7 separate regions of the Homo sapiens genome follow, and regions 1, 2, 3, 5, 6 and 7 are each linked to region 4. Evidence: promoter capture Hi-C in 16 types of primary human blood cells and fetal thymus (Javierre and others, 2016). All regions are on one chromosome and are shown on one strand. Each heading gives the region's core, a stretch centred on a gene start or on the middle of the fragment in contact. The rest is flanking DNA. Distances are from core to core; before and after follow the strand shown.

Region 1 (3,691 bases), core at 252-2,751, 740 kb before region 4:
TGCCTACATACAAAGCACACTTTAATGACGAATTAGAGGATTCCAAGCTTGCCTTTATAAGTGAATATCTACAGATTTTTTTTTCTTATAAATACTACATGGAAACCAAGTTACTCTATGTTTTGAAAGCAACTTCTAGTACTCTTTAGATGTATGGGAAAAAGTCCTCAGGTTAATTTCCTTAAGAAAAAGCGTCATGAATTAAAAGACTGCTTGTTGAAACTGAAGATCACTTTCTACTGAGTCACCAGATATTGAGCAATATGATTTATATCAATATGCCTTGTGAAATTGTCAAGTTAAAGATTGTACATATTAGATAAGAAAATTTTGTGTCCCTATAGAGTGACAAGTATCTTGAGGGTTTTCTGGAAATATTGAATTCAACAAATATCTCAGTAAAATGCAAACAACTTCTTGATGGATTTTTTAGTCTCAAACAGCCAGCCTAATTCCTTTATTAAGATTTAAGGAGAAGGAAGTAAGTGGAATTCAATTTCATATGACGCAAGCATATTTTAAATAGAGTAACCAAAACAAATAGATTCAAATGGAATCTATGCAAACCATCCTCTTTGCTTCCTTTGTGATGGACACTCCTTAGCTTCTGCGCCTTAATAAGGTAGGGTTTGTTCATTCAGTCTTTCCAAAGATAAGTGTTGGAAAATTTAGAGTTAATAAATCAGTGGATAAAAATTCAATGACTATTTCAAGAAAATAATAGAAGAAATATATCGCCACCATTCAATGTTTGTGCAACCAGTGTTTATTGAGTGCTTTTAATGGTACCTAGAGAGTAATACAGGTGGTCAAGCACAGTGGCTTATACCTGTAATCCAAGAACTTTGGGAGGCTGAGGTGGACAGATTGCTTGAGCCCAGGAGAGTAATACAGGCATTATTCCAGCTTTTACTGAGTGAATATTCTAGCATTTGTACGTAATTCTGTGCACAGGTATTCAACAAGTATTGATTGTCTCCTATGCAGTAGGGTATATGTGCTGTTTTATGCACTGTGCTAGATGCCAGGGCTACAGTGGAGGGCAAAACAGACATGGCCGCTGCCCTTAGAGAGAATGCAGTGGTAGAGCCAGACATTATTTCAATATTCATACAAATAAATGTATAATTGCAAATTGCGCTAAGAGCTGTGAAGGATAACTACAGTATAGTATGAGAAGGTAGAATAGGAGAACCTGACTTGGTTAATGAGGGGCATTTGAGTTAGGACCTAACTGGTGACTAGGATTGTTAACTAGGCCAAAATGGGGGTGGAGGCTCATTCTAGGTAAAGAGGGAAAGTTTGTGAGAAGCTGCCAGAGTGGGAAGGAGCATGGCGTTAGAATTTACTTGACTGTAGTATTGCTGTCACTCAGTATATGTATATCAAAACCTCATATGCTGTATATCTTAAATATATACAAAAATAAAGTAAACAAGACCAGTAGGTTTGGAGAAGATAGAGGGGGAGAGAGGGCACACGATTTGAAAGAGGGTAGAGGGGGCCAGGCCAGGCCATACCTTGCTGGGTTTTGGTCTTTATTCCAAGGACAATAGGAAGCCTTTGAAGGCCTTTAAGCAATGGAGTGACTGGATCAGCTTTTTCAAAATGATCCCCCCAGCTCTGGTGGAAAGAGTGGAAGAGAGGTGGGTACAGGTGGAAGCTGTGTGGTCAGCCAGGAGAGAGACATAAATAGTGGCTTGGATGAGGAGGCAAAATACCAGATATGGCCAGGATATGTATAGGTATCTGTTGAATGAATGAATAAATAAATCTAGGGTCAGGAGACTTGGAGCTTGACCTAGTTAAAAAGCTACAATTGAAAGATTTTTAGATCAACATTGATAGAGGAATAATTTTTCTTTGATTGTTTAGTTAAAGTTCAATTTAACTGAAAGGTAAAAGCCAGTTAAAATAATGCTTTATTATTTGATTTTTTTTTCTGACAAAATGAAACATAATTTAAATGATCCATAGTGATCCTAAATAGATTTTTAGTTCAGAGATAAATTATCATAAGGACATAAGATGTTTGGATATATGTGTATAGCAAGTGTTTTATGATACATATTCTACATGTTGGGAATGTAGTTTTATATGATTAAGTTTTCAGAGTGCCAATGCTTTGGAAAGTGCAGCTAAAAAGTCTCCCTGTGGACAAATTGGCAAATAATTGTGTAACCTGCTACTTCAGCTTTGTGTCTTTGGTGTTATAATATTATATTGTCCTTTAGCTCCTCAGAAATGATCTCCTCTTTAATGCAACTGTTACCTGTGTACCCTGGAGGTGACAGATAATCATGATAATGATGACTAAAACTTTCATCAGGTTCTCCTCCCTACTGAGACCTTCCTTTCCCTTGAGCAGTTCTTGTCTTCCCACTGGCCAGCGTTCAGTTCTATCTCCTTCAGCTCTGCAAGCTGTAAAAACACCTTCCATAGTCACACAGGGGAACTGAGTAAAATTCTCCTAACTTCACATCACCTGAAGGACTTTTTCTTACCCCTAGCCTCTGAGTAATAACACTGAGAAGGACTTCATTGTTGTGCTTTCCTATAACACCACTGCTGGATTCTGATTAGCCTGGATCTAATTCTGTAGTACTAATTTTTGTTCCAGGATTATCTCTATTGGATGCTGATTATATATATTTGTATTTTTTAAATGATAAACATTTATTTTATTATTTGTCAGCCTACTCAGTCATATATTAGATAGGCTAGGGAAGTTTAACATTAAAATTATCATCCAGAATCAGCACATAAGGCTGTTTAAAATGGGTATCCAGTGAAAACACCGTAAAGCACCTTGGGAGGTACTTTTTATCCAATGTAAATTGTAATATACAATGTAAAAACTGTATGAAACTTTATCATGTATTTGCCTTTAGATCATAAAAACTGAGGTTATTTTCAATAGACTATGTAGAGTCTTACATATAGTTGGTGCTAAATAAAAGCTTGTTGAAGGAATTGAAGCCATCCTCACAGAATTAAGAATTCTGGGCAGAAATGTAGTTATAATTAAGCTTTAACCAGGCTGCACTTTGACCCACTTCCTTGTAACTAAACATCACATAACCTTAGATTCTGACCATTTGCATCCCCATTGTTCCTGTAGATAGAAATTCTAATGTTAGAACCATGAGGCTTTTGTTTAAGAATTGCTTAAACGGATCCTGAATTACTGTGGAACTGCTAACGCCAACCAATTTAAAGACTCCCACAGACAAACCAAATGAGCATGAGAGTACAGTTTCTTTCTCTCCCTGTCCTGGGACTTCACCCTGTACTCTTCAACTAATCAACAATCTCTATGCTTTGGCTCACTCCAAAACTCTTAAAAACCCTCGCCCCAGAGTCCCCGGGAAGATGGATTTGGGGTTTTCTCTTTTCTCCTCATTTGTTGGCCTTACCATTAAACCTCTGTCTCTGTTGCAACCTGGTGCCTCTGGGTATTGACTTGCTGTGAACATCCAGGCAATGAACCTATTACAGCTACAGAATGAATACACAAATAAATGCATATGTGATGCCCCACTTGTATACATAAATAAGCCAGCGGAGAAAACCAAACACCACATGTTCTCACTCATAAATGGAAGTTGAACAATGAGAACATGTGGACACAGGGAGGGGAGCATCACACACCGGGGCCTGTCGGGGAGTGAGGGACTAGGGGAGGGATAAC
Region 2 (3,389 bases), core at 420-2,919, 770 kb before region 4:
GCTCTAAATTTTCCTCATAGGTCTTTATGTAGATATTTTTATTTCAGTTGGATAAATGTCTATGAGTGAGATTGCTAGATTGTATGTTAAGTCTATGTTTAACACGATGACAAACTGCCAAACTATAATTTTGCATTCCCACTAGCAATATATGAGGGTTCCAGTTGCTCAGAATCCCTACTTGCACTTGGTATTGTCCATCAAAAAATTTTTTTTGAGTCATTCTAATAGTTGTATAGTGGTATGTTTAGAATTTGTATTTCCCTAATGTCTAATGATGTCAAGCATCTTCTTTGTGTGCTTATTTGCCATTTGTATCTCTTCTTTGATAAAGTATCAGTTCAAATCTTTTGTCCATTTTTTAATTGGTTTGTGGTTTTTTTCTTGTTATTGAGTTGTAGTTTTTTATATTTATATTCTATATGCCAGTCCTTTATAAGATTTGTATTTTTGTGACTATTTTCTCCCAGTCTTTGGCTTTTTAAAATTATTTTGACGGTGACTTTCAATAGATGACACAAACAAATGGAAAAACATCATATGCTCATGGATTGGGTGAATAATGATATTGGGTCAATATTGTTAAAATGACCATACTGCCCAAAACGAACTACAGGTTCAATGCTATTCCTATCAAATCACCAATGTAATTTTTCACAGAACTAGAAGAAACTATTCTAACATTCATATGGGACCGATGAAGATCATGAATAGCCAAAGTAATCCTAAGTGAAAAGAACACAATGAAATACAAATGGGCTATATAATGATCAAAATACATGAGCAGATGTTTCACCAAAGAGGAGATACGGATGGCAAATAGCCACATGAAAAGCTGTTCAGGCCAGACACAGTGGCTCACGCCTGTAATCCCAACACTTTGGGAGGCTGAAGTGGGTGGATCACCTGAGGTCAGGAGTTTGAGACCAGCCTGGCTGACATGGTGAGACCTCATCTCTACTAAAAATACAAAAATTAGCTGGGCATGGTGGCGCATGCCTGTAATCCCAGCTACTCAGGAGGCTGAGGTAGGAAAATCACTTGAACTTGGGAGGCAGAGGTTGCGGTGAGCTGAGATTGCTCCACTGCACTCCAGCCTGGGCGCCAGAGAAAGTCTCTGTCTCAAAACAAGAAAAAAGAGAGAGAAAAAAAAGAAAATAAAAAGAAAAGCTATTCAGCATATTTTCCATTAGGGAAATGCAAATTAAACTTCAGTGAGCTATAAGTACATACCTATTAGAAAAATACTGATAATGCCAAATACTGATGAGGATGCAGAAAAATTTGCTCTCCCATTTATTGCTGGTGGCAATATAAAATGGTACAGCTTCTCTGGACAACAGTTTGGCGGTTTCTTACAAAACTGAACATGCACCTACCATATGACCTAGCAATTATATGCTTGGACATATAACCCAGAGAAATGAAAATGTATGTTCACACCAAAACGTGTACACAAATGTTCAGTCTCAAAAGGTTACATACTGTGTGATTACACTTATATAGCATTCTCTAAATGGTAAAACTATAGAGATGGAGATTAGTAGTTGCCAGGGGCCAGGAACTGGGAAGGGAGTGTTGAGGTACACATGTGAATACAAAAAGGTAGCATGAAGGAGTTCTTTTGTGGTTATGAAATGGTTCTGTATCTTGATTTGGGTGGTGGTACAAAAATTGTACCTATACATGGGGTACAATTGCACAGACACACAATTTTTTTTTGGTTTGTGGTTTTTTCTTGTTATTGAGTTATAGTTTTTTATATTTATATTCTATATGCCAGTCCTTTATAAGATTTGTATTTTGTGAATACACATGCAGGTTAGGAAAAACAAAAACTGAGTAAGCTCTGTAGTTAAACAGTGATGTACCAATGCCAATTTTTAAATTTTAGATATTATACCCTAGCCTATAGAAGATGTCTCTATTTGGGGAAGGTGAGTCAGGAGTACACTGGACTCTACTATTTTTGCAATTTCCAACGAGTCTATAATTATTTCAAAATTTAAAAAATGTGATTACACATTTTTTTCTGCTTTTTTTTTACTACTTATATGGATGTTTAAGACACTCATTTGGATTATTTCTAGTATGTTTGTTATGGGTTTAATAGTTTATCATTTACTGAATAAACCTTACTTTCTTAGGGTTTAGATTCTTCCTTTATCATACACTAATGTCCATTTATATATAATCATTTCCTACACTCTTAGTTCCAGTGATGAATTAAATTGTGCTTCAGTTTCTTCATCTGTAAAATGGAGATAATAATAGTATATATGTCATAGAGTTCATTCCTTCAAAAACGATATTTTTGGTACCTAACCTGTGTTAGTCACTGTTCTAGTGCCTCAGGATACATGAATGGATAAAGTAGACGAAGATCAAGCGTTGTCTTTCTGGAGTGTACCGTCTAGCAGGGGAAAAGGATGACTAATAATGAATACATTGTATAGTAAGTTGGAAACAGTGCTGTGAAAAAAAGAAAAAGTGGAAAACCTAGGCAATACCATTCAGGACACAGGCATGGGCAAAGACTTCATGACTGAAAAACCAAAAGCAATGGCAACAAAAGCCAAAATTGACAAATGGGATCTAATTAAACTAAAGAGCTTCTGCACAGCAAAAGAAACTATCATCATGGTGAACAGGCAACCTACAGAAAGGGAGAAAATTTTTGCAATCTACCCATCTGACAAAGGGCTAATATCCAGAATCTACAAAGAACTTAAACAAATTTACAAGAAAAAAACAACCCCATCAAAAAGTGGACAAAGGAAATGAACAGACTTCTCAAAAGAAGACGTTTATGCAGCCAACAGACATATGAAAAAATGCTCAACATCACTGGTCATCAGAGAAATGCAAATCAAAACCACAATGAGATACCATCTCACACCAGTTAGAATGGCGGTCATTAAAAAGTCAGGAAACAACAAATGCTGGAGAGGATGTGGAGAAATAGGAACGCTTTTACACTGTTGGTGGGAGTGTAAATTAGTTCAACCATTGTGGAAGACAGTGTGGCAATTCCTCAAGGATCTAGAACTAGAAATACCATTTGACCCAGCGATCCCTTTACTGGGTATACATCCAAAGGATTATAAATGATGCTACTATAAAGACATATGCACACGTATGTTTATTGTGGCACTATTCACAATAGCAAAGTCTTGGAACCAACCTAAATGTCCAGCAATGATAGACTGGATTAAGAAACTGTGGCACATATACACCAGGGAATACTATGCAGCCATAAAAAAGGATGAGTTCATGTCCTTTTCAGGGATATGGATGAAGCTGGAAACCATCATTCTGAGCAAACTATCACGAGGACATAAAACCAAATACCACATGTTCTCACTCATAGGTGGGAGTTGAACAATGAG
Region 3 (3,579 bases), core at 931-3,430, 810 kb before region 4:
AGCCCTCATGTTGTTCAACAGGACAGTTAGGTCCACTCCTGGGGTTGCATTCATCTCCACGTTCACGTTCCCCCCAGCTGTATATTGCAAGACTTCCATTTCCTAGAAAAGGGATCGGTATTCATCCTCAGTGGAGGATTTTGATTGATGTTCATGCCCTGCTACGAAATGAACAGTGGACTTCAAGAAGGAAATTAGAAACTGTATGAAGCCACTCTGCAGGCTTCCTTACCTCCTCATGACTTTTTTTGAGGTAGGTCAATTCCTCACTGAGGGTCTCACACTGTATCTCCAGGTCGGTTGTACAAAGGGTCAGTTCATCCAACACTCTGCGAAGACCACTGGTGTCGGCCTCAACACTGTGGTGCAGAGCCAGCTCATTTTCATACCTGAAAGATTAGTAAGGCACCTGAGAGTTGTCATCGTAGGCAGGTGCAAAGCACAACTTTTTAAGGTATTTCATATGCTGAAAGATATGATGTTCTGTACATACCTCTGAAGCTTCTTGCAATGGCAAACTGCTAAAATGGTTTGAGATACCTAACAATTCATGAATTGTATTTTGGGGATGTTATTTCTTCAGAGCTGATTTTTGTCATCCAATGTGCTTAACAATTAAATAAAATATTGCTAGATTTTAGATTTTAAAAAATATGTGATTGCTCTTTTTTGTTGTTTGTTTTTGAGACAGTCTCACTCTGTCACCCAGACTGAAGTGCAGTGGCCCCATCTCAGCTCACTGCAACCTCCACCTTCCGGGTTCAAGTGATTCTCATGTCTCAGCCTCCCAAGTAGCTGGGATTACAGGAGTGAGCCACCATGCCTGACTATTTTTTTGTGTGTGTACTTTTAGTAGAGACGGGGTCTTGCCACATTGGCCAGGCTGGTCTCAAACTCCTGACCTCAAGTGATCTGCCTGCCTCAGCCTCCCAAGGTGCTGGGATTACAGGCATGAGCTACTCTATCCAACCATGATAGCTCTTTTTATAACGGCTTATTTAATTCAATTTCTTTATTGATCTAGTCTGGCTTTAGAAAAACATTTTGGTTTTCAAAGCAAAATATATATTCCTTAATCCAATTGTAATATTTTAACTTTTATTAATATAATTAATCAGTTTGTTTTCACCTACTTCAGCCTGAAGTCATCAGCGGTCAGTCTGGCATTGTCATTTTGTAGAACAATGCTGGCATTGCAGATGGTCGCAGAAATAATCTAAATAGGGAAGATTGTGAAAAATGTTAATTACCAAAAGTCAAAGGAGGCTCCAGACTTCAGTGTGATTTTATATCTTCTTAATCTGTCAAACATCTGTTTTAGTATCTTTTTTCTATGTTAAAGAAATCTGGATTTTCTTCAGATAATAAGCATCCAGAGCTTAAGAGCCACATAGATACTTTTACTACTTTTGATCAAATGGTATGAGCTAAATATATGAAAAACGAAGTGACTATATCTGTTTTGAAATGATTTCTTTTTCATTATTTAATTCTACAAGATTTTATTGCCAGGTACTGTGCTTAGCACTGGAAATACAGAGTGAACAAATCTTACATCACATAAATTTGTTAGGCACATTTTATATTTTCTCTTCTTTAAATTATCAACACACAAAGTCTGTAGTAAAAGTATGCAAATCCCTATTTCTTACCTGCCTTTTAAGATCTTCTATGACTGAGAAGTATCTGCTATAGTCATGATCGTGTTCCCGGGAAGAGCCAGGCTCACATTTCTCGTACCAGCCCTTGATCTTCTGCTCCAGGTCTGCGTTGGCCTCCTCTAGAGCATGCACATGGTCCAGGTAGGATGCCAGGCGGTCGTTGAGATTCTGCATGGTCACCTTTTCATTCCCAGAGAGGAGGCTGTGCTCATTGCCAAGAAAACCAGCACAGGCACCACTTCCCAACCCTCCACCGCTATTGCAGAAGCTTCCTCCAGAAGAGATGCCCTCAAGAGTACAAGAAAAGCTGCTTCTTGCTCCCGATCCAACACACACATTCCCAGCCACGAAGCCTGTTCCTCCACCGGACAGCCTACCAGACCCAGTTCGCGAGCAGATCCTCCTGGATCCACCAGAAAGTCGAAAAGACATGGTGGCAGCACAGCCGGGCAACCCCTTCCCAGAAAGAGGAGCAAAGCCAGGGTTCACCTTCCACACTTGTTAGCTCCCTTGGCCTTTTATAGTATTCACTGGGTCATTTCAGTCTTGACTATGCCAGTCTGTAATAAAATTTACTTGCATCCTAATTGTTGTTTTTCACAATTGGGTAATTTTTAACAGCGTCCAGTCTGTAGGTGGAAAGGTGCCCCAAGGATATTTTTTATATATAAAAATGGTGCCAGGTGAAGTAAAACTAAATCATAGCCTCAAAGGCCAAAATTAAATATGACTAAATGTGCATCTTTTTGGCCACTGGAATATTAATAGAATCTAGATTCTCCCCCTGCCACATATAACAAAGAATTAATAATTCCAATGAGAAATGTCTCCTACTTTTGTCCTGTTAACGCTCATAGAGTATTTCTAGTATTCCCACTTCATTGAGTGCTTCCTTTCTTCCTTTCGTTTCTTTTTCTTTTTTCCTTTTTTTAAAGATATGTGGTCTCGCTATGTTTCCCAGGCTGGTCTCGAACTCCTGGCCTCCAGTGATCCTCAGCCTCAGCACCCAGCTCAGCCTCCTGTGGCCAGCATTACAGGTGTGAGCCACTGCCCTGGGTGTCTGGGTGTGTGTTTTCCTTCTTATCAAAACCAGAAAATCTCAGCATCTATTGATCTTTTGGTAGTGGGAGATTTTAAAAGAAATCTACCATTTCTTGAATTGAAAACTGAAGTAATAGAAATCCTGCAGTCCTGCTTATTGTTAATTTCAATATAATTCATGAATATGTGATGATGGTGGAGAATTAATTCGATTGAGATTTCTTGGTTTGGTCCAGGAGCAGGACATCAATTCAACTAACAGTCTCCAAATTGTTCACTTCCCTACCCCTAAATAGTGTTTACTGTCTTTTAGTTTAAATGTATGTATTTAAGACATTAGGAATTATTTTGAGAAGTGAGCATCATATTGATTAGCAAGGAGTAAAATATATAAGGAGGGAGGTGTTTTCATCATTACCTAGAAAACCAGTACTTATAGTACCCTAGAGAGAAGATAAGTTGTCACAGGGAAGTACTCTTTATTCTCTTGCCTTGATGCTCTTGGGAAGTTATCCAGGCTTGGATCATTTCCCTACTGGGCAAATGAAAATAATAGCATCAAAGAGTCTCAAATGAATGTTGAGCAGTTCCAATCATGAATGACGATAAGACAGTTTGAAAGGCACAAACATTTTTAAATGTTAATTATTTAAATTATTATAATAAAGTGGACATGTCAGACAGGGTCGGGTCTCTATCACCTATAATGATACAAATTGATTGGTTAACTAATTATGGGTTTAGTTTTGAAACAGTAATTTTCTTCCGAATGATATTTTTCAATGTTGTGGATAGTGAATCCTTTGGAAAACATCCAACATTATTGTCACTAAATCGTATGGAACATTTAGTGGACTGCATGGATTTTCTAAATCAA
Region 4 (3,601 bases), core at 509-3,008:
TGCTTCATGTTCTTGCCTGAATCCCCCTTTTCCCCCACAAAACTTGACCATAGCAGCCCAAAGGAAAACAGATGCCCCAGGCCTGTCCTAAGACTTTGCTAACTCATGGTCAACAGAGGGGGTAGATGCAGCCCCGGGCTTAGAATCGAAAGCCCAGGAGTTCTGGTCCCAATTCTGCCAGTGTCTTGCTGCAAAACCTAATGGGTCTTGGGGCTTCAAGTTCCCCACCTCCAGGTGAGGAGAATAATCTGAGGCTCCCTAGCCCTCCTTCCTGAGCTGACCTCTCTTCTGTCTGCATCAGCCAGCCCTGCCAGTCCTCTGCAGATATGCACATTCCTTTTCAAGCTCACAGGCCATGGGACTTCAAGTGGAACTTTCTCAAGAGATAAAACCCAACTAACACAGGGGATTAGAAAAGAGGACTCAGGGGAAGAATAAGAAGATATATTGGCCCCTGAGTCTGGTTGGATTTCCCCACCTCATCATTGAATTTCCCTAATCCATGCAAGTCATTAGAGCCCAACAGACTCCAGCAGGGAGGGCTCCCAAGTAATGTGGGAGCAGGGAGGAGGGGGCTAGAGTCAGGGCACAAGCCTGCCAGGCTCTCTCTGTGCAGGGCACATCAAGGGACCACACTAATTGTCTCTGCAGGCTCTCCATGCCCGCCTGGCTGTGGGGAGGGACCAGCCTGTACCAAGGCTTATGGGCGGCGGCAGCCACAGCCCAGACTAGTGAGCTAATGAGTGGTTTGGATGTCTTGCCTGGTCCCGTTAGAGCCTCACTCCTCCCCTGTGCTGGAGAACAAGTAGCTGCCTCCTGTGCTGGAAGGTAGGGCACAAGGGCCCCAGCCTTGGCTCTGCCATTAATTTGCTATGTGACCTGCAGCTGGTCACAGCACCTCTCGAAGCTTCAACTGCTTCCTCTAAAAAATGTAAGGATAGGAATCACTGATCTCACATGGTCTGAGGATTTGAGATCAGAAGGGGATGAGGAGGCTGGGGAAGGGAAAGCATCTTCTCACTGATCAGTCTTAGGGCATCCAAGACCTCGAAAGAAGGGATCTGGGGTGGACTCTGTCCTATAGAGAAATCTTAAGGTCTCAGGGGCCTGGGGCATGAATTGTTCCCAGAAGGAGCTAGCTGGAATGGTGCCTTCTGCTGCCCATTCACCCACCTTGTTCCTCAGGTCCTCAATGGTCTTGAAGTAGGGACTGTAGTCTTTGATCTCAGCAGGCCGCTGCCTCTGGTACCAGTCACGGATCTTCACTTCCAGGTCGGCGTTGGCCTCCTCCAGAGCACGCACCTTGTCCAGGTAGGAGGCCAGGCGGTCATTGAGGTTCTGCATGGTCACCTTCTCACTGCCCACCAGAAGCCCATCACCACCAGCAAAGCCACCACCAAAGCCACCACCCAAGCCAGCACCAAGGCCACCACCATATCCTCCCCCAAAGCCACTACCAAAGCTGCTGCTGCTGCTGCTGAAGCCACCGCCATAGCCGCCCCCCAGCCCGCAGGCTCCCCCAGAGGAGAAGCGGGAGGATGAGACAGACAGGCCGCCCCCGTAGGTGCTGGGGGCGCGGCAGGACCCTCCGGCCAGGACGGAGGAGATGCGGCTGGAGCCGCCCCCGATGCCGCCCCCGATGCCGCAGGAGCCCTTCATGGAGCTGGAGGAGGTGAACTGGCGGCTGCAGGTGGTCATGGTGCAGAGGAGGGAGGTGAGCGAGCGAGCAGTTGGCTGAGTGAAGAGAAGGTGCTCGGGTAAATTGGAAAGGGATGCGAGTGCTTTATACTCGTGGGTAGGGGGCGGGTCTGGCACTTTCCATTCCCCTTGGCTTTCATCACCCACAGGCTAGCGCCAACTCCCAGCCAGGTCCCTCCTCTCATCCGCCTCATCATGTCTGTCATATTTTACTGGAAACTCATTGTTTGGAGTGTTTTGGGCTTTCTTGTCCCGCCAGGCGTGATTCACAGGGGGAGGTGTGGGCCTGCAGGCTACACTTTCCCATCGGACCCTGGGAGTCCCAGCCCTCAGGAACCCGCGCACTGGGCTTAGCCAGGGTGACAGAGAGCAGGGCCTCTGCACCTTAAACCTAGTTACCTGCTAGCTCTCCATGAACTGAATGGGCCTTTAACATCCACGTAGAGGAAGCCTGCTGCTGCAGGGGATGGATACCCGGCTGGAAAGCACCGGCATGGCAAGGTCACCTTGGGCACAGACAGGCCTCCCTCACCATGACCCTCTATTAGAGACAAGGAGGTCTGGGGGGCCCTCCCAGGCCTGACCTCCCATGCTGTGCTGAGAAGTCTGTCCCATCCCTGAAATACACCCAGCTAGTCAGGTGTATCGTGGTTCCCACCCCAACATCCCCATCAAAGAGAAATCCAGGCAGCTCTCCCCAGCCCTGAGCACAGACCCTAATCTCCTCCCTATGGTGAGGATCTCACATCCACCACACCATAGGGCAGGTGGCCTCATGGAGGCCAGGAAACAGCCTGGAGTCAGGTGGGTCCTGGCTCTGCCATTTACGCCTCTGTGACCCAGGGCTTGGCACTTCTCTGAGCCTCAGTGTTCTCATCTGCAAAGTGGGAGTCATACCATCTATTCTGCTTAGTGCAGTCAGCTCTGAGAATCCAATGCGACAATGTATGTGAAAGGGTTTTGTAAACCGAGTATGGCAAGAAGCCTCGTTGGCATTGTTATAGCCCAGGCTTAGCCCCAAAGTGGCTGGAGCTGCATCCAGGAACAGGCCTAGGGGGGCCTTTTATTCTTCCAGCCCCAGATATCTTCTCAGACCCCCAGAACATCCCTAGTGTGGGCAGCTCAGGCGCCCTCGTTTGAGCCCCTTGTGGAACTGGCCCAGGAGATGTTCTGGGGAGGAGTAGAGGCTGGAGTGGAGCTGGGCTGTGCCAAGGGCAAGGCTGAGGTGGACACGAGGGTCCCTGACTCCTGAAGCCCCAAGGGTCAGGGGACATTTCTAGGAGTCCACTTGGTCCTGCTTTGGAGGTGTGTATATCAAAACTTCAGCAATCTCCCAGACAACCTCCCAAAGCAAACCCTTCCGGCCCCCACCCCACCCTCCCATCAGCCCCTAGGCTCCACAGACCCCGGCAGGCATGTTGAGAGGAATGTGATCGTGTCTGGGGCTGCCTGACGCATCCTATCTCCTCAGACAGGCCCCAACAGCCCCTGCTGGAGGCTCCAATGCTCTTCCTGGGATCAACTGCTCCTAGAAGAGAAGCAGGACCCTCTGTCACCCCCAACCCCACCTTGACTGTCACCAAAGAAGAAGCCAGAGAAGGGAGCCCCCCACTACTGTGGCCTAGGAGCTTGGAAGACAATGCTGAGACAGACATCTGAGCTGTGGGCTCCCCAAATCTGCCAGCAAAGGACTCTCAAGGATGTGAGTAAGCCAGGGCCCCACCCCGCTCCACCCGCCCCTGACAGACACTCCTAATCTCCCTGCAGAGAATGGTCCCCCCACCCTGGCCCAGCCCTACAATTTCCCCAGAGAGAGGCAACAGGGGTTTTGGCTGAGGGACAGATGCTTTTGTTGGGAGGCATGTTGCTGTTGGCTGTGGGGCAAGGGGAGGCTGTGCTCACT
Region 5 (3,304 bases), core at 284-2,783, 790 kb before region 4:
TTTATTTCAGGGCAGCAGTGAAATTAGGTATGCACTGAAAGAAGGATAAAGCCTGCTTGTGGGAGGTGGAGAGAATCTTGAAACCCACAGTGATTAACATGGACAACAGATGGGAATGGCTGCAGGAACATTTCCAGTCATCTAATGCAGAGGAGAACACTGTGATGAACAGGATTTGGAAGAGATGACTCTCTTCCAAAAAAACAAGAGATGGACATGCTTTTCTGCAGTGGGAATGAAAAAGAAAAGGCTTGGAAGTATGGAAGGCTAATGGGCAGCCCACATTTGTAGCTTAAAAGAGGTAAAAACTGGATTTTCAAATGGCTTTACTTACTTTCCATCTCCATCTATCAGGCGGCAGTAGGTCTCAATTTCTTTTTCCAAGTGGACCTTGACATCGAGGAGATGCTCATACTCCAGCTTCTGGCCCTCGGTCTCGGTTCTGACCTGGTGCAGCTGCTCCTCCAGGGCCCCGATCTGAGCCTGGATCTGCGCCAGCTGCGTACAGTAGTTGCTCTCGGTCTCTGTCAAGGAGCACTCCAGGGAGTGTTTCTGAGGACATCAAAGAAGCCGTGGCAAGGGATGAAAACACTCTGAGGACTAGTAGAACATTGTTTCTCAGTAATCAGCAGGATTGCTCCCTGGGCAATTGTGGAAATTTGTGAGGCTTGTCACAATCAAATGGGAAAGAAAGGAGGCTGGCATTTATGAAGTGAGGGCCAGGCATGATGGACGTGGGATCCTGACCCGGGATAAATGGCCCTTTTCCCACAAGACTTTTGATGTTCCACTGGACATTGATGATATATAGGTCATATTTCTATTAAAACCAACTGATATATTAAAGCACCTTTTAAGGGTAGCAGAATAAAAAATCGATATGGGAAAACTTGTATTTTGAAATTATATATTTATTTCAGGGTTACCTGTTGTTTCCATCTTACTCTGCTACTGTCCCCGCAGATCCACTCCGCTAGTGTTCCATGGCCTTTTGTGCTACTGCTTTTTTTTTCTCTAATCCATCCTTGATTTTCTAGCCTCTATCAAAGGTCTTTTATTAAGGTACCTGAGATTGAATGAGTGCCTTAACAGATGTGAGATTTCAAGGCAAGAGCTATATCTCATAACACAATACAGGTCATTATTTCGACACTACTCTTATGAATATCATACTTCCTCTTTGCTACTTCTACAGTCTGTAATTTGTCTTGGCACCTGCTGCCTCCTTTAATTAAGGTAATTTTCCTCTTTCCCTTATTATAGATAAATATGTCTGGGCAATTATTACTTCTGTTGATATTAGTTATTATCCAAGTGTCCACCCCAACTTCCACTCTTTCATTTTCCTTTTCTTGTGTGGAGGAACTTCTGATCTTACATGGTTGAAAATGAAAGATTTATTAAGAGAAGATGCAAGGCTCTGCCTCTTTCATTACATTTTCTAGGGTAGTTAGGCCCAAGTATTTACCTAGTAAATACATTTTATCTTAAAATACTTGCCTTTTTATTGCATTTATGGTATTATACTTTAAAAAATAATTTTGTATATTTCTAAATCTATTACCTAGTGACTTCATTCTAGCATTGCAAAGAAGGAATTACACAATATTTGTCTTAACGGGCAGACATTGGGTCTAATGGGGCTGAGAACCTAACACTGACTTAGAGCTACTGACTTAGGCAAACAGACGTGTTACATGGAGGGTGCTGGGCTCTCCAGGAGCAGGTAAGTGGAAGGAGATCAGGATGGTAATGCGGAGAGTAAGGCAACAGGTAGCAAGACGCCAGTGAGGCGTGTGCTCGGCAGCTCAAAACTTTAATTTCCCTGGTAATGCGTCCTCCTAGGGTATTCCTTTTTATGATTGCTAATACACTCATAAGTCAGAGAGGACAGCGTCTCTACTTCACAGTCTTCCACCGTGAAGGCTGGCTTGTCAAAGAGGGAGGAGAACAGGATGAACTTGAAAGTTTGTACATCACAGGAAGCAAACGTGAACATTTGTGTATTTAGACAACTCCCAACTTACAAATGACTTGTGTTCTAACTCTAGGAGATTGAGCTTAGAATTCATAAGACAACAGGGCCTCAGGGATGTAAGTTAGGTACTATGCTCCCATTATTCTAGAATTCAGTTATGTCCTGTGTTAAGTGGGCTTTTTATGTGTGGATTATCCTATGAGCCCAAATTATAGTACCACTGGCTGCACAGACTCTAACTACTTTATAACATCCTTGTTTCTATGTGAAAATGCTCACAATTCTGGTCTGGGGACTCGAAAATGTATTTCCATCAGCGTAGCTCAGAAATAGAGGGAGGATTCACTCACACAGCTCCTGCAGCAGGAACAGAGTCCTCAGGGATCTAGTTCAGGGAAGAAGGGAAATGGAGAAGAAAGGAAGGTTCCAGGAGCCCACAGTGGCAGGGGTGTCTCGGGTACCTGCTAGCAGCAGTGATGAGGGAGAGGAGAAGAGGGCCATCCTGGTTAAGTTAGGGGCCAGTCAGTGTAAAAACAAGTCTCCCATCTAAATCCGATATAGGGAGAAAGCACACACCTTTAGAGGGCGGCTAAATCAAAAGAATCTCCCGTTGTTTTGAGTCATCTTTTCCTTTTTGGCTCACTGCACTCACTTGGGTAACAGCTGCTCTCTTCTTTGTGTTACAACCTGGTGTCCTCAGGAGGCACGAAACCTCTTATGGGGAAGGGAGTCCTTAGGCCATGTGCATGCCGTAATTCTCAAAGTCAAGCCTTTTGGGCACTGCCAGCTCACACTCTAGAAGGGAAGCCATTTTTAATCCTGGGTTGACGCCATGCTGACCTTTGAAGTAAGCCAGGAGCTGGTGGTATGCCCAAGTGGCTGAAGGCCTGGCTCCCAGGTGTGCCCTCCGGGATTTGACCTCTGCCCTGGACTCTGTGGCGATGAAGAGCCTGACAGTGCCCATGTGGCATTCAGGTGTGTACCCTCTCTTCCTCTGCCTGGTGAAACCACATGTGGCTTCTAATATGTCTTCATCAGTATCAGGAGATGCTGGTGTGATGCTGGCTCCCTGCCCTGTGGGACACTAGCCCCACACCCCTGATCATAGACCTGTGGCTAATTTTCTGGTGCAGCAATATTGCTGCTGTTTGTTTTGCGGACCTAAGCTGAATTACCCTGAGAAAGGATCTATGTGAAATGTCTATTTTCATGAAATGAGCACTAAGCATCAGCCAGGAAGGAAACTCCCAGTGATGTCAAGGAGGAAGAAAAAGCTCTCTTTTGAGTGTCTATGCATCTGTTTTTTCCTGCTCTCCTCCACTCTCT
Region 6 (3,300 bases), core at 139-2,638, 920 kb before region 4:
CATTTGAATTTACTCATTTTGGCCCTGTGACTTGTAAACTAAACTCATATTTCTACTACTGCAAAGTTAAGTGTTTTGTTTATGATTTTTAGAAGTTGTCATCTATTGATTTTTTTCTTCTGTTTGTAAAGGTGAATGAACTATCCCAATGCTTACCTGTACCAGTGACTTTGCTTAATCTAAGATGTTGATCATTCTTTATGAAGGCTGAAAATGTTATCTAGAGGTGAAATTTACAATGGAACTAAAAATGAGTGGCTAATGGAATAAAGGCCTGACATTTTTCTACCAATTTTTTTTTTTAAAATTTTGGGTGATATTCTTAAGTAAACTTTTTGCTGTATTTCAGGGTTTGGAAGATAACTTGAACCCATATATGATAGGTAAACTAAAAAATCCCCTAAATTTCTTAATCTTTGTTTCTAAAATATTTGTTTGTAAATTTGTTTAAAGACTTGAGACCTTAATTACTTGCTGAAGGTGATTGTTACTTTAAAACTAAGTCTATGAAATTAGGATTTAGTCCTTATCTAAGTAGGCTCTCTTTCTCTTTTTTAAATACTTAAATATTACAAGCTTTGTAATGGAAAGAAATGTTTCTCATCTTATAGTACAGAAGCAAAAATCTTAGTGGAGAATCGTTACCAATTTGGGGAATTTCAATGGTCATAATTTATATCATTGTTTCTGAATGCCATGTTCACACACTCAGATGATTTCTATTTATAACAATCTGGTATAAAATGGAACTCGTTAAAAAGATGATAGAAACCTTTTAGAAATATCTCTAGAAAGTGTACATGCTAATAAATCTTACTTAAAGATTTTTCATTTTAAAGATGTTATTTAAATTATCTCTGTAAATAACTCCAATAATATCTTTGAAGGGTATTTGGAATGGTTCCTTCCTGAAGATTGTAAGAGGTTAGAGTGCACCATTTTATGGTATGTTGACCCCATGTTAATGATAGGAACCTCACAATTTATATAAAAATCAAATGCATCAATCAACACTTACTTAATGGCAATTTAACAATATAATCACAGTATTTCCCCCTGTAGTCCCAGTCACACTGCAGTAGAAGCTAAATTCCTTCCCCAATAGATGCTGCATCGAAAAGGAAATACTGTACCTCAGAGAGGCCGGGACAGGAATTGGGTAGACATGGACTGTCTCCTTATTCTGGAAGGTGCCTGTCTGTATGAAATCATTACCTGGATCCTTGTTGAGAGCACCGTCTCTATCTGATTTCTGGTGAGGATCTTTTCATAGTTTGCCCTGATCTCATTGAGTAGCTGGGACAGTTCCATTCTTTTCCCATCCTCCACCTTGGCTAACTGAACCTTATCGATAGGATGAGTCGCTGCGGCAGTCTGCTCGGTCTGCGCGGAAGGCAGGGAGCCTCGCAGAGTTTTAAAGATGCAGAGCTCCTTTTTCGGAGGCCACGGAAATTCTCATCTTTCTAACTAATTATGCAAATACAGGGTAAACTCTTTGCTCCTATTGTTATTGGTATAGTAGAAATGTCAGATTCTTCATGAAGGAAAGGAAAATTTCAAAAACCTGTACTGGTTCCCTGTAAAAATTGAGCACTTTGAGGGGAGGGGGAGTTCATTTTTGTGAAAAGGAAATGGGGCATAACATAAGAAAATTGCCGGGCATGGTGGCTCATGCCTGTAATCCCAGCACTTTAGGAGGTTGAGGTGGGTGGATCACCTGAGGTCGGGAGTTCGAGATCAGCCTGGCCAACATGATGAAACCCTGTCTTTACTAAAAATACAAAAATTAGCTGGGCGTGGTGGTGGGTGCCTGTAATCCCAGCTACTCGGGAGGCTGAGGCAGGAGAATTGCTTGAACCCAGGAGGTGGAGGTTGCAGTGAGCCGAGATTGAGCCACTGCACTCCAGCCTGGGTGACAGAGTGAGACTCCATCTCCAAAAAAAAAAAAAAAAAAAAAAAAGAAAATTATATTTAGTTTTCTCAAAATGTTGCAGATAAGTGCTGGTAGACTATGAGAGTTGTGAGTTAACATTTCCAAAGTTTTAACAAGGATGAAGAAATAGACCTTTTGGTGTATTCACCAAAAGAACCCTTGAGTCCTTTGGAGGGTGTAGTCAGTGTACCATTCCATCCAATCGTTGCAATCACTTGAGCCCTTCGGAGGGTGTATTTGGCGTATCATTCCATCCAATCCTTGCAATCCCTGACATTTTCTAACCTGTAAAGATGAAAAGACTGAGGCCAGAGAGGTTGAGGCATCTTGCCCAAGGTTGCTCAGTGATGTATGACATCACTGGGACTGGCTCTTTGACAACTTGCTTGTGTTCCATGTATTACCCCTGCATATCTGCCTCTGCGTTCTCTCTCTCCCCTTCTAAATTCCTGGTTTAATCTTGCCAGCTGGTTGCTAGATGTGACAGAAATATGTCGTGAGAGTGGATCTATCATTATTGTTATTTGTGGAGTGGCTTTGGCTGAATTGTATCTGGAGCACAGTTCAGGAGATAATCAGACCTGGGTTCTAGCCCTTACAGGGCCTTTGCATGCATGTCCTGCTCTTTTAATTTCTGAATTAACTCACATCTGGCCAGGCCAGTCTATGCTGGGCATTCTCACAGCCCTCTCCAAACAAAGCTGTCCTACCCACAGCTCCTGGTGAGAGGAGAGGTTCCAGGTTATTTCTGACCCACCCCTCCCTACCTCCTGCACCTTCCCCATCAGTCACAACTTGATTATCTATAGATTGGTCAGAGACCTTTGGAGTAGGCTGAGACAGAAAGCTCTGACTAAAGAGAGTCATTAATGATTATCTAGGCCAAACTGATTCTCTTTCTTGGTAACTGGGACTGAGAAATATGAAGAGAATTAGGCTTGGGAGTGGAGGAGAGAGAAGAAAGCAATGAATTAAATTCCTAAATTAAATTCAGGGAGCAATGAATTAAATGCTTCCTGCTACTTTAGGTAGCTCCTGCTAATATCCGCCTGAAACACAGAGAGCTGAACTAGATTCCCTGGAGGGTCAGTCCTGGCAATCTGCATTTTAAATAGGTCTGCCAGCATTTCTTATGCACCCTAAATAAAGCAGCACTGTCCAGTGGAAATATAACACAAACCACAAATGCAAACCACAGATGTCCTTCCAAACTTTCTAGTAGCCATATCAAAAGATTGAAACAAAAAGAAGTGAAATTAATTTTACGACTATATTTTATTTAACTTGATATATCCAAAATGCAGCAACCCATATAAAATGTTAATGAGATCTTTTACATTATTCTTGATACTGTCTTTGAAATCCAA
Region 7 (3,315 bases), core at 667-3,166, 830 kb before region 4:
CAATTATAAACAAATATATTTCAATATTGTTAAGGTTTTTAAAACCAGCTGGCAAGTATCTAACATGATGACCTGGGAGATGGTGAAAAAAAATTGTTCTTTTCATACCGTGGCTAGGAGAGACTGAAGTTCAATTTCCAGGGTTTGAAGAGTGCGCTTCATTTCAGTCAGCTCATTCCGGGCTGAGGTTGTGGCTCCGACATCCTCAGAGATCTGCTGCTGCAGGGAGGCGCTCTGAAATGACATAAGTGAAGGAGCAAATCTTAGTTTTGTGAATACCAGTAACATGCAAAGGGACCGTTTTCTGGAGGAGAGTCACCTTCTCGTTGAACCAGGCCTCCGCGTCCCTGCGGTTCTGCTCTGCAAGGGCTTCGTACTCAGCTCGCATGTTGTTCAGCAGAACTGTGAGGTCCACCCCGGGGGCTGCGTTCATCTCCACGTTCACGTTGCCTCCAGCTGCGCACTGCAGAACTTGCATTTCCTAGAGGCAGAAAAGTGTTCTGCTCAGCTCTGCAGGAATCTCATGGAAAGTCTAGAAGCTTAGCTTTGGAAGGGCACTTAGAGTTCGTCTGGTTTTCCCCTCCCAGGCTGTGCATTGACCCCCTCCCACCACATTTGATACTTCCTGTCCCGTTGACCTAATTCTCAAAGACGGTGAACTCACTACCTTATGAAGTAGCCTGTTTCATTCTGGGAGAGTTTTAATTGTTCCAGAGTTCTTTATTATAGTGAGCCAAACTCCTGCTCTTATAACTTAAACTCATCAGTTTCAGTTCTACTACTCAGAATGCATCTTAATTCCTTTTCCATATGAAAGTTTTAAACATTTAAAATGAATGGTCCTCCATCGCTTATTCTATTCTCGGCCTTTGTGGACTGGTCTTCCTTCCACTAGAGGCCAGCTTTGGTGCAGTGTTAACTCAGCTACACCCTGAGCACAGCCATGAACATGGTTGAAGGGTTGAGTATGAATAATTCTGAACAATTGAAATGATGATAAATAAATAAATGTATGTGTGTGTGTGTGTGTGTGCGTGCGTGTGTGTGTGTGTGTGTGTGTGTGTGTGTACCCCTCAGGGAAGAACATCATCCCCTAAAGAATCCCAGCTGTCTATTAAGTCTATACAGGGACATTACAGTATCATGTTGGACTTTGGAGTCACGCAGATCTCTCTGAATTTTGGTTCTGCCCTATAGTGGCTAGTGAGTTTGGGAAAGTTGCTTAACCTTTTTACGTTTCTATTTGCTTATCTGAAAATTGAGGATAATTAAAAACCCTTCTCTGAGTTGTTAAAAGAAGTCAAAGAACTAATAATAATAATAAGACTCCGTGATACTGCCTTGCACATAAATGCTAAATGAATGCTGGTTATTATGATTATTATCATCATGGAAGCTGGAATTTATTTTGCAGTCAAAGTCTACATGTTACCCTGTCTGAACTGCAAGCTGTTAGAATGTGTGAGTCAGTTCTAAGATTGTGAATGGTAGGCATCGCTGCGAAGACTGTGTATATTGGAATACCACCCATCAGCTTATGTCTGCTGCAGAAACTCTCCTCCCCATTCATGAATTGGTCTTAATGATGGTAACTAAGGCTTTCATTCCTCCCTGCAGCGAGCCCCTCAGCCATTCCAGCCTTCTTTCCTCCTGGTTGAAACTATGTCTTCCTGATCTACAGATGTGGCTTTTACTTCTGAGGATTTAGTGAAAACTTCCTGGTTCAAGCATAAAAAGAAAAAGATAAAAAAAGATATATGTATATCATCTATATCTATATATCTATATCTATATCTATATCTAGGGTTGCCTGTAAATGAGGCATTACAAAAATCAATTGCTTTTGATTCATCAAAAATTGATTAAACACCATGGGCTGTAACTATATTTGAATCCACGTAGTCAAATCAATGTTATTCAAGTAGTTATATTTATAAGACAGCCTCATGACTAATCAAGTAGGATTCTTAGCTTGATCTTCTGTTTTAAGCATTTGGCTTGACCATAGAAGTCTTTTGGCTATTTAAAATATCAAATTTATTTTCAAAGGATAAAGATTTTTCCCTTTTGGAAAACAGTGCCTCTGAAAGCAATCCTAAAGATGTAATTGCTGCAATATAAAATTTGGAACTTAGCTTCCAACAGTGACCACTTTGGAAGTTTATGATTAAGTGTAAATTCTGGTATAATAGTTTAACTTCATGCTCATTATTTTTACAGCCAGACCTATTAAGAATATGTACTAGCGTTAAGTATGTATACTTAATGTGTGTATGAAGTAAATGTTTTAGTGTTTTAAATCTGCCACTGTCATTTAGAAATTGAGATCTAGTTTTCTAGTTTAAGGATGGCCTTAAAGTATATTTATTTTATATTTATTTTATCTAATTAGACTTAATGTCCAAAGCGGATCATTTTAACTTAGTTATAATTACACAGCCAAACACTGCTCTTATAACCCTGATTGGTCTGGAAAACATGATTCGTTTTTTTTTTTCCCCATAGGAAACTTGATGAGAGAGCAAGGGTGAATCTGTACAAAGAATCTGACACTTAAAAAGACAGCTCAGGCCGGGTGCGGTGGCTCACGCCTGTAATCCCAGCACTTTGGGAGGCTGAGGCAGGTGGATCACGAGGTCAGGAGATCGAGACCATCCTGGCTTACACAGTGAAACCCCGTCTCTACTAAAAATACATAAAATTAGCCGGGCGCCTGTAGTCCCAGCTACTCGGGAGGCTGAGGCAGGAGAATGCCGTGAACCCAGGAGGCGGAGCTTGCAGTGAGCCAAGATCGCACCATTGCACTTCAGCCTGGACGGCAGAGCGAGACTCCGTCTCAAAAAAAAAAAAAAAAAAAAAAAAAAAAAAAAAAAAAAAAGACAGCTCAGCCCTCATGTCTGTCTGACAATGTGTCTTCAGCACCAACTTTTTATATGAGAGGTTATGTACATTATCTCCTGTCAGGTGCACAGTGTCTGCGGAGGGATAGCAAAATGTAGACGACCAGCTCTTACCTCTTTATGGTTCTTTTTGAGGTAAGTCATCTCCTCACTCAGGGTTTCATACTGAATCTCCAGATCTGTTCTGCACAGGGTTATTTCATCCAAAACTCTTCGTAACCCATTGACATCAGCCTCTACACTCTGGTGAAGAGCCAGCTCATTTTCATACCTTAAAGAGTGTTAATGATTTCCTAATTTGTCACATGGTTGGAGACATAGTCACTAGTCACTGATCAATGACAAATGCTAGCATTCTGGAATTTTGAAGATTTGGCCACAAGAGGCATTTTCAAAGCTTGTTGTATAATAATTA

Evidence for each region. Contacts are between HindIII fragments. The CHiCAGO score rates a contact against its expected background, and 5 or more counts as called.
Region 1: a contact is called between a fragment that was not itself captured here and the fragment with the promoter of KRT14 in region 4, in 11 of 17 cell types (total B cells, total CD4 T cells, naive CD8 T cells and 8 more). The highest score is 9.8, in total B cells.
Region 2: a fragment that was not itself captured here is called in contact with the fragment with the promoter of KRT14 in region 4 in 2 of 17 cell types (M0 macrophages and M2 macrophages); the score reaches 7.3 in M0 macrophages.
Region 3: the fragment with the promoter of KRT26 here is called in contact with the fragment with the promoter of KRT14 in region 4 in 12 of 17 cell types (endothelial precursors, M2 macrophages, naive CD8 T cells and 9 more); the score reaches 8.2 in endothelial precursors.
Region 5: a contact is called between a fragment that was not itself captured here and the fragment with the promoter of KRT14 in region 4, in 1 of 17 cell types (M1 macrophages). The highest score is 6.4, in M1 macrophages.
Region 6: the fragment with the promoter of KRT222 here is called in contact with the fragment with the promoter of KRT14 in region 4 in 1 of 17 cell types (M0 macrophages); the score reaches 6.7 in M0 macrophages.
Region 7: a contact is called between a fragment that was not itself captured here and the fragment with the promoter of KRT14 in region 4, in 1 of 17 cell types (activated CD4 T cells). The highest score is 5.4, in activated CD4 T cells.

The regions. Positions count from the first base shown.
Region 1 is chr17:40,850,239-40,853,929 of GRCh38, forward strand. LOC105371777 (a long non-coding RNA gene) reads left to right here and starts at 560. Exons shown (of 3, transcript XR_934754.3): 1 at 560-622. The HindIII fragment of the contact is 2,913 bases long and covers 46-2,958 here.
Region 2 is chr17:40,811,601-40,814,989 of GRCh38, forward strand. LOC105371776 (a long non-coding RNA gene) reads left to right here. Exons shown (of 4, transcript XR_934753.2): 4 at 2,348-2,528. Among named protein-coding and RNA genes, the nearest start is that of KRT10-AS1, 5.8 kb to the right of the region's middle. The HindIII fragment of the contact is 4,415 bases long and covers 1-3,389 here.
Region 3 is chr17:40,770,021-40,773,599 of GRCh38, forward strand. It overlaps KRT26 (keratin 26), which reads right to left and starts at 2,181. Exons shown (of 8, transcript NM_181539.5): 1 at 1,653-2,181; 2 at 1,134-1,216; 3 at 233-389; 4 at 1-102. The coding sequence starts at 2,093. The HindIII fragment of the contact is 2,390 bases long and covers 1,928-3,579 here.
Region 4 is chr17:41,585,137-41,588,737 of GRCh38, forward strand. It overlaps KRT14 (keratin 14), which reads right to left and starts at 1,759. Exons shown (of 8, transcript NM_000526.5): 1 at 1,174-1,759. The coding sequence starts at 1,698. It overlaps LOC124904003 (a long non-coding RNA gene), which reads left to right and starts at 3,211. Exons shown (of 2, transcript XR_007065755.1): 1 at 3,211-3,400. RefSeq lists an enhancer at 161-662. The HindIII fragment of the contact is 10,096 bases long and covers 906-3,601 here.
Region 5 is chr17:40,793,495-40,796,798 of GRCh38, forward strand. KRT28 (keratin 28) reads right to left here. Exons shown (of 8, transcript NM_181535.3): 6 at 335-552. Among named protein-coding and RNA genes, the nearest start is that of KRT28, 4.8 kb to the right of the region's middle. The HindIII fragment of the contact is 6,389 bases long and covers 1-3,304 here.
Region 6 is chr17:40,663,789-40,667,088 of GRCh38, forward strand. It overlaps KRT222 (keratin 222), which reads right to left and starts at 1,389. Exons shown (of 6, transcript NM_152349.3): 1 at 1,216-1,389. The coding sequence starts at 1,311. The HindIII fragment of the contact is 3,418 bases long and covers 575-3,300 here.
Region 7 is chr17:40,750,846-40,754,160 of GRCh38, forward strand. It overlaps KRT25 (keratin 25), which reads right to left. Exons shown (of 8, transcript NM_181534.4): 3 at 3,015-3,171; 4 at 320-481; 5 at 109-234. Among named protein-coding and RNA genes, the nearest start is that of KRT25, 2.8 kb to the right of the region's middle. The HindIII fragment of the contact is 2,758 bases long and covers 538-3,295 here.